Regions from separate parts of the Homo sapiens genome. Here region 1 is linked to region 2. Evidence: promoter capture Hi-C in human tissues and cell types (Jung and others, 2019). All regions are on one chromosome and are shown on one strand. Each heading gives the region's core, a stretch centred on a gene start or on the middle of the fragment in contact. The rest is flanking DNA. Distances are from core to core; before and after follow the strand shown.

What was found. Contacts are between HindIII fragments. The study calls those that stand out against the background at their distance.
Region 1: a contact is called between the fragment with the promoter of OCM2 here and the fragment with the promoter of BHLHA15 in region 2, in 1 of the 25 tissues and cell types used here (mesendoderm cells).

What each region holds. Positions count from the first base shown.
Region 1 is chr7:97,988,946-97,993,567 of GRCh38, reverse strand. It overlaps OCM2 (oncomodulin 2), which reads left to right and starts at 3,372. Exons shown (of 4, transcript NM_006188.4): 1 at 3,372-3,524. The coding sequence starts at 3,464. The HindIII fragment of the contact is 22,202 bases long and covers 1-4,622 here.
Region 2 is chr7:98,209,220-98,213,511 of GRCh38, reverse strand. It overlaps BHLHA15 (basic helix-loop-helix family member a15), which reads right to left and starts at 2,073. Exons shown (of 2, transcript NM_177455.4): 1 at 2,014-2,073; 2 at 1-1,256. The coding sequence starts at 1,202. The coding sequence ends at 633. LMTK2 (lemur tyrosine kinase 2) reads right to left here. Exons shown (of 14, transcript NM_014916.4): 14 at 3,874-4,292. RefSeq lists a silencer at 2,012-2,201. The HindIII fragment of the contact is 24,836 bases long and covers 1-4,292 here.

The DNA of each region.
Region 1 (4,622 bases), core at 2,123-4,622, 220 kb after region 2:
CAGGCATCAGCCACTGCACCCGGCCTGAACTGTCTACTTCTAAGCCACTGTATGTTTCTCATTGCAACATGGGATCTATTTTTGCACTTTTTAAAAACTTCAGGCTGGGCACAGTGGCTTACGCCTGTAATCTCAGCACTTTGGGAAGCCGAGCAGGGTGGATCGCTTGAGTCCAGGAGTTTGAGACCAGCCTGGGCAACATCGTGAGGCCCCCGTTTCTACCAAAAAAAATACAAAAAATTAGCCAGGTGTGGTGGTGTGCGCCTGTAGTCCCAGCCTCCTGGGAGGCTGAGCTGGGAGGATTGCCTGAACCCAGGAGGTCAAGGCTGCAGTGAGCCGAGATCACACTACTGCACTCCAGCCCGAAGAGCAAAACTCTGTCTCAAAAACAAATAAAAATAAAAATGAAAAACAAACAAACAAAAAACATGACTCCAGCTTTTAAAAAGGAGATCCTAGGCCAGGTGCGGCGGCTCGCACCTGTAATCCCAGCACTTTGGGAGGCCAAGGCAGGTGGATCACTTGAGGTCAGGAGTTTGAGACCAGCCTGGCCAACATGGTGAAACCCCCATCTCTACTAAAAATACAAAAATTAGCCGGGTGTGGTAGCATGTGCCTGTAATCCTAGCTACTCGGGAGGCTAAGGCAGGAGAATTTCTTGAACCCGGGAGGCGGAGGTTGTAGTGAGCTGAGATCATGCCTCTGCACTCCAGCCTGGGTGACAGAGCAAGACTCCGTCTCAAAAAAAAAAAAAAAAAAAAAAGGAGATCCTGACACATGCCACAACACAGATGAACCTTGAGGACATTATACTCAGTGAAATAAGCCAGTCTGAAAAATACAAATACTATATGATTCCACTTATATGATGTCCCTAGATAAAGCAGTCAAACTCTTTTTTTTTTTTGAGGTGGAGTCTCGTTCTGTCACCCAGGTTATAGTGTAGTGGCGCAATCTCAGCTCACTGCAACCTCTGCCTCCCAGATTCAAGTGATTCTCCTGCCACAGCCTCCCAAGTAGCTGGGATTACAGGCTACCATGCCCAGCTAATTTTTGCATTTTTAGTAGAGATGGGGTTTCACCATGTTGGTCAGGCTGGTCTCGAACTCCTGACCTTGTGATTTGCCTGCCTCGGCCTCCCAAAGTGCTGGGATTACAGGCATGAGCCACTGTGCCCGGCCAGTAGTCAAACTCTTAGAAGCAGAAAGTACAATGATGCTTACCAGGAGCTGGGAGGTGGGGGAACAGGGGAGTTGTGGCAGCTCAATGGATACAGAGTTTCTGTTTTTCCAGCTGAATAAATTACAGAGATCTCTCATTCAATAATGCACCAAGAGTTAACAATATTGTACTATACATACACTTAAAAATGGTTGAGATTATATATTTTATGGAATGTGGTTTTTACCCAATAATTAAAAAGAAGAGTCTAGCACAGTGCTGGCCATATAAAGCCTCAATAAATGTTTGCTGAAAATTAAAAAAAAAAAAAAGGCCAGGAGTGGTGGTTCACACATGTAATCCCAGCACTTTGGGAGGCTGAGGTGGGAGAATTACTCGAGCCCAGGAGTTCAAGACCAGCCTAGGCAACATGGCAAAACCCTGTCTCTCCAAAAAATATGTATATTAAAAAAATTAGCCAGGCATGGTGGTGTGTGCCTGTAGTACCAGCTACTCGGGAGACTGAGGTGGGAGGATCGCTTGAGCCTGGAGGTCAAGGCTGCAATGAGCTGAGATTGTACCACTGCACTCCAGTCGGGGCAACAGAGCAAGACCCTGTCACAACAGAAACAAAATCTTGAGGTGTCTAGTCCTGGCCTCAGCCTCAGAGTATTTGTTTCTGAACTTGTTAGTTTTGGGGGTTGGGGATGCTGGTTTGATTTCCTCCTTTTTGCCTTTTGAGTGTGTGCAATTTATGGTATAGCTGGGAAACGTAAAAGTCAAGAGTTTTGTAGGAAAATCACGTCACTTAGCCCTGTCTCCTGTGCCGGACGAGTCCTGTGTGTGCACTTGGTGACAATGGCTTTGAGTCTTCAACTCCAGATTGAGGTCAGCCTTACACATCCATAGTTCCCAAAGCTGAAAACAGGCCTGCCTCCAACGGTACCTGCTAACATCTGGGGAGCTTTTCAGCTTACAGAGCACCCTGTATGTGTTTGTCTTAGTTCAGGCCACCATCTCCAGCTTACCAGGCTCTAGAACCTTCTCCACACTTTGCCAACAGGGTTCGTTTGCAGAATTGAAACCTTAGTTAAGGTTTGTTGAGGTTGTTGTTGTTGTTGTTGTTTTTACAATTGGCTATTCCCACCCACATTCCCTTGAGACATAAATAGAAAAAAAAAAGAGGTTTCCTGAGTAGGACAAGACATTTGAGCTGCATCCACTTGATCCTTGAAAAGGAAATCTAAGAGGTTGTAACTATCACTTTTTCTAGCCTATATAAGGTAGGTCAGTAAGGTAGCAAAAGCACATCTGTTGTTTTGCTCCTTCAACTCTTTTTCCTGATTCTTCCTGGGGGAAAACCTAAAACGGTGAGTAACTGGTGGACCCATCAGACCCCAGACTCTTCTTCACTGCATGCATTCATATTAGGCTCAGGTGCTTAGACTCCTGTTTTCCCATGGCTCTGACATCTGGAAGGATTTTAATCTCTGGGAGATGGGCTTTTCATCCATCTGCTTCCCACCTTTCAGGACAGGTAGCATGTCTTCTTCCACAGAATGTCTGCAAGCAGCCCAAACTGTATCCTTTCCCACGTGGAATTTGCAACAGTGCATCTCTCGGACTGCTGTAGGAAAATGCCAGTGCATTTGTAACATGGTTTACGGCTGCCTATGCAAATGACTGATTATGTCAGTATAATTTTTATAAGAAAACAATTGAATCCTTCTTTGGGTCATGTTTTTTTTTTTCATTTTTGGCATATATTCAAAAGAAGGCTCTGAGACAAAAAGGGCTGGGGTCTTTTTGGTATCTGGTTTTAATTTGGATATTCTGTCCCGTCACTTAATACAAAACCATGCTTATCACATTTTAAAAATTCTAGACAGGCCTGGCTTGGTGGCTTATGCCTGTAATCCCAGCAGTTTGTGAGGCCAAGGCAGGCAGATCACATGAGGTCAGGAGCTCGAGACCAGGCTGGCAAACATGGCAAAACCCCATCTCTACTAAAAACACAAAAATCAGCCAGGCCTGGTAGTGCGCACCTGTAATCCCAGCTACTCGGAAGGCTGAGGCAGGAGAATCACTTGAGCCCAGGAGGTGGAGGTTGCAGTGAGCCAAGATTGTGCCACTGCACTCCAGCCTGGGTGACAGAGTGAGACTCCATCTCAAAAAAAAAAAAAAAAAAAATCTAGACACACATACAGTTTCAGTGGGCCTGGGAAGATGTGTTTCCCCTGGATGTGCACGTTCCTGTTTGTGGCTTATCGCCTCTCGTTTATTCTGTGTGAGTAGGTAGAAAATGAGCATCACGGACGTGCTCAGTGCTGATGACATTGCAGCAGCGCTCCAGGAATGCCAAGGTAGAGGGGACGTGGGGCGGGGGTGGGATTTCCTCACAGCTTTGCCCCTCCAGCGAGGCAACACAAAATCAAAATGTAGGCCAGGCGGCCAGACGCAGTGGCTCACGCCTGTAATCCTAGCACTTTGGGAGGCTGAGGTGGGTGGATCACGAGGTCAGGAGTTTGAGACCAGCCTGGCCAAGATGGTGAAACCCCATCTCTAATAAAAATACAAAAAAATTAGCCAGGCGTGGTGGTGGGCACCTGTAATCCCAGCTACTCGGGAGGCTGAGGCTGAGAATTGCTTGAACCCGGCCTTTTTTGTAGACTCTGTCTACAAAAAAAAAAAAAATGTAGACCAGGCATGGTGGCTCACATCCGTAATCCCAACACTTTTCGGAGGCCAAGGTGAGAGGACTGTTTGAGCCCAGGAGTTTGAGACCAGCCTGGGCAACATAACAAGACTCCATCTCTACAACATAACAATAAAAATAAAAACTAGCGGGGCATGGTGGCATGTGCCTGTGGTCCCAGCTACTCTGGAAACTAAGGTAGGAGGATCACTCAAGCCCAGGAGGTTGAGGCTGTGGTGAGCTATGATCGCTACACTGCACTCCAGCCTGGACGACAGAGTGAGACTCTGTCTCTAAATAAATAAATAAATAAATAAATAAATAAGTAAATAAGAGCTTGGCTGGAAAATTCATGGAATCAGAGAAGAAAACTACTATTTATTAGATAACTAAAATTATAGAGATCTGGGATCTGAGCACACGATTACACTTCTGTAAGACAAAAGAAACCTACTAAACATGAAAGCAAGAAATCACTGAAGGGCCAGGTGTGGTGCTCACACCTGTAATCCCAGCACTTTGGGAGGCCAAGGCCGGTGCATCACTTGAGGTCAGGAGTTCAAGACCAACCTGGCCAGCCTGACAAAACCCTGTCTCTATTAAAAATACAAAAATGAGCTGGGCATGGGGGTGCATGCCTGTAATCCCAGCTACTCGGGAGGCTGAGGCAGGAGAATCAGTTGAACCTGGGAGGCAGAGGTTGCAGTGAGCCGAGATCACGCCACTGCACTCCAGCCTGGCGACAGAGTGAGACTCTGTCTCAAAA
Region 2 (4,292 bases), core at 824-3,323:
AGGAAGAGACTCCAGCCCCTCCCCACCATTCAACTTTTAAGGATGAATTGGAGGTCATCTGATTAGAGTTTCTGGCAGCTCCAATCATCTCTGATTGGCCCCACTCCCCGAGCAGCCTTAGGCTCTGCCGGGCTTGTCCCGGGCCTCAGTTTACCCCAAATGAGGATGCTGAGCCCAGGCCCCATGTAGCCCTATAACAAAGGTTGGAGAGGGGGTCCTTGCTGGGGCTTTGGCCTTGGAAAACCTGCAGGTAAACCTTTTCCTGGGATCTCCCCTTGCCCAGAAGTCAGGGTGAAGAGACGTTAGTTCCAAGGCTAAGGAGGCCTTTCAACTCGGGCTGAGACTGCCTGGCTCAATGAAAAATCAGGATCCAACTGGGCCCTACCTAGAGGTTTGGGCCTCACGCCGCTGTCCAGGGCCACAGCCGCAACTAGGCCACTCGCTGGTCCCCAGCGGGGCAGGAAAAATTGCTCCAGGGAAGTGGCTGAATGTTCGGGGGAAAATGGAACCGCTGAGGCCGTGTCCTTGTGGGGTGTCACCGCCCATCTGGGGCTCGTGGCTTGGAGGGACTGGGGCTGGGAGGAGCAGGCCAGGCAGCTGCGGCCACCGCCACCCCCACCCAGGACTGGGCGCTAGGTGCCCTCTCGGAAGCTGTGGATCTGCGTGGAGTACCTCTGCAGGTGGCCCTGGGGCTGGGCCTCCGTGGCCCCCAACGCACCCCCAGCCACCTGCTGCTGCTGCTGGTAGTGCTGGTAGAGCTTGGGGCCCGGCCCCTCCAGGCCTGGGAGGCGGCTGCTGGACATGGTCAGGATGGTGGCCGTCAGCGATTTGATGTAGTTCTTGGCCAGCGTGAGCGTCTCGATCTTGGAGAGCTTCTTGTCCGCGCGCACGTGGGGGATGACTTCACGCAGGGCCTGGAAGGCGTTATTTAGCTTGTGCATCCGCTGCCGCTCCCTCTCGTTGCTCTCCAGCCGCCGCTGGATGCTGCTGTCACGACGGCCACCGGGCCCGGAGGGTCCTGGCCGCCTGCGCCTGCCCTCGCCCGGAGCCCTTGCTGCGGCCCGGGCCGGCCGGCTCCGCAGACCCTTGGCCGGCTCTGGCCCCGGGTTCGGCAGGGACCCGTCGGGCGTCCCCTCCCCGGGGGTGGCCTCTGTGTCCTGCACCGGGGCCCGGCGCCGTGGGGGCCGGTTCTTGGTCTTCATGGCCCTGGACTGGCTGTCCTAGGAGGTGGCGGCAGGAAGGTGAGGCCCTTGGAGCTGAAATCCAGAACACAGGACACTCTGTGGTCACCCCACATGGGCAGGGGACCCGCTGGGGTGCCGTCCCTGGCAGCCTCCTCCTTGCTGACAGCAATGGTACCAGGGGCAGGGGTTGGCGCTCTGCGACTGGAGGTCCTTCTGTTCACACGCTTAGCCCTGGGCTGACCCCACACACACCCACGCCCTTGCTTTACCTCAAACAGACCTCTGGAATCTGTCCCTGTCCCTGCGTCCCCCTTCCCCCAGGATGACTCATCCTGACCCCTAGATCTTCCTCTGGCTCATGCCCCTCACTGCCCCCAGAGTGCCTCCTGAGCTCGGTGACCTTTGACACTTTGCCTAGAATGCGTCCCCCACCCTAGCTTAGGGGGCGCCTCTGCCGGAGGCGGCACTGACTTCATCCCGTGGGCGGGCAGTGACTCCAGCCACCAGGCTCTCACTGTCCTGCCCCGCTGGACGTGACACGTGCAGGGACAGCACTGGGGCCAGAACCGCTGCGGACATGGGACAGCACTGGGGCCAGAACCGCTGCGGACATGGGGCAGCCGTGGAGGTCAGAGGTCGGCAATGGCCAGGGCCTGGCGGCAGCCCCCAATCCCACCACGTGGATGGGCCCCGTGGAGCCTCCAGACAGACCAGAAGTCCCCCACCCGGGTTTCCCCACAGCCCCCACAACCCCCACAACCCCACCGCCAGGTCCTGCCCCTGGGTCCCCTCCCCGCGGCCCCACCCGAGTTCCCAGCTCCCGGGTTACCTGGGGATCCGCGGCCACACGCGCCGAGGCTGCCCACGGGGGACAAGGACACGTCGCTTTAGCCGCCCCGGGAGGGGCCGCGGACGCATGCAAATGAGCCCTCGGGGCGGGGCCGGGGCGGGGCCGGGGTCCGGGTGTCCCGGCGGGCGCTGGGCAGCAGTGGCGGCACCTGCGGGCGGGCGGGCGGGAGGCCGGCGCCTGGGGCTCCCGGACCAGGTGGCCGCGCAGCCCCGCCCCCAGCTTCCGCCCCGCCCCCAAGATAGAAAACCTCCCCCGCCCGCCTCTCCCCATCCTCCCCCTACTGCCCCCCACCCTCGTCCCCCAAGACAGCCACCCCCGCCCGCCTCTCCCCACCATCCCCCGACAGCCCCCGACCCTCGTTCCCCCAGACAGCCTCCCCCACACGCTTCTCCCCATCCTCCCCCGACAGCCCCCCAACCGCCCCGAGATAGCTTCCCCCCATTCGTCTCTCCCCATTCTCCCGCTACAGCCCCCCCAAGACAGCCTGCGTCCCCACCTCCCCTACTCCCGTCCCCCGACAGCCTCCCCACAACCTGCTTTTCCCCATCCTCCCCCTCAATTTCCACTCGCGCCTTTCCCACCCGCCTACCCCATATCCGTGCCCGAGACAGCCTCCCCCCGCCCGCTTTCCCCGACCCTCCCCCTGACACAGCACCCCCGCATCCATGCCTCCCGCGATCCTCCTTGCCCGGCCTCTCCACTCGTGGCGGGGCCCGGGCCCATTCCGCCAATGGGAAACAGGTCTCTGGGAGCCGCCGGAAGGAGGGGCAGCCCCGATTCAGGCTCAGCACACAGATCCCAAGTCCCAGGAGCACTCCGGGACGAGCCGCTCCGCGAAAACGCGGGCATCTCCCAGGGGATCCCCCGCCCCGCCGCCCGGGATGTTTAGGGGAACCTGGGGCTCCTACGGGCTGGGGGCGGAGCCCGAGTTGGGGTGGGGGTGGGGGGCTCCTTGGGCAGGTGTGCAGTCCTTGGGAACGCCTGTTTTGTTTGTTTGTTTGTTTTTGAGACGGAGTTTCGCTCTTGCTGCCCAGGCTGGCGTGCAATGGAGCGAGATGATCTCGGCTCACCGCAACCTCCGCCTCCCGGGTTCAAGCGATTCTCCTGCCTCAGCCTCCCGAGTAGCTGGGATTACAGGCATGCACCACCACGCCCAGCTAATTTTTGTATTTTTAGTAGAGACGGGGTTTCTCCACGTTGGCCAGGCTGGTCTTCAACTCCTGACCTCAAGTGATCCACCCGCCTCGGCATCCCAAAGTGCTGGGATTACATGCGTGAGCCACCACGCCCAGCCAAAGCAGCATCTTGCTCAGGGACTATTCGGGGCTGCTAGGGGTGCGGTGACTGCACGCTGCTGGGGGTGCGGTGAGTGTCACGCTGGCTGGCAGGCCTGGGCTCCACACTCATGGGTCTCGCCGCTCTGTCTCAGTACCTCTGGGTGGGAACTCAGAGGGGCCATAGTGGGGCGGGGGGCGGGCACAGAAAGGCTAGCTTGGAGCCAAGGTTAGTTAGTTCTTCTCTTGGCCTAAAGCTCATTTGAGGCTGGGCCAAATGAGGTCCTTGGAAATGAAAATGCTTCCGAAATTCATGAGTGCAAAGGCATGGTTTATAGACATGCTTCAAGGTGGCAGGAACACTAAACAGGTTTGGTTTTCCAGTGGTTATACAAAGCTTTATGTCCTCAGGAGTGCGGGGAGTTTAGGTCTGTCACACAAGCTCCAGAGGGACCAGGGCAGGGGCCTGGAACACAGGCTGCGGGCGCTCACAGCAGGGCAGGGCCAGGCCACCCACCCAGGTGGCCCTTGCACGGTGGACAAAACACAGAAGAAACGCGGCCAACAGAGTTTATAAATATATAACTATATTTATTTTGAATATTAAATAGTTTTTAAATTACAAGCAATTTATTGAATCACACTATGCATCAATATACAGTAAAAATCTTACAATTTAAAAATGTACACAATTTAAACTGAAAGTTCATTGACTATTATATTGCCATGAACCTCTTCTGCCTGTGTTAAAGCACAGCAGGGAGGCCTGGTGGGTGTGACGGCCCCCTACGTCCTCCTCTGCAGACGGAATCCGACGGTGGATCCATACACCAGCCCCATGATCAAGATCCCGCTCGGCCCACGTAGGCCTGAGTGCTTAACCAGCACGTGTCCACACCGGTCAAACTGATCTTCACAGGCTGTTGGTAATTCAACACTGTCAATGCATCTTTAAGAATTTCTTTATAGATGAAAGAGAATGTT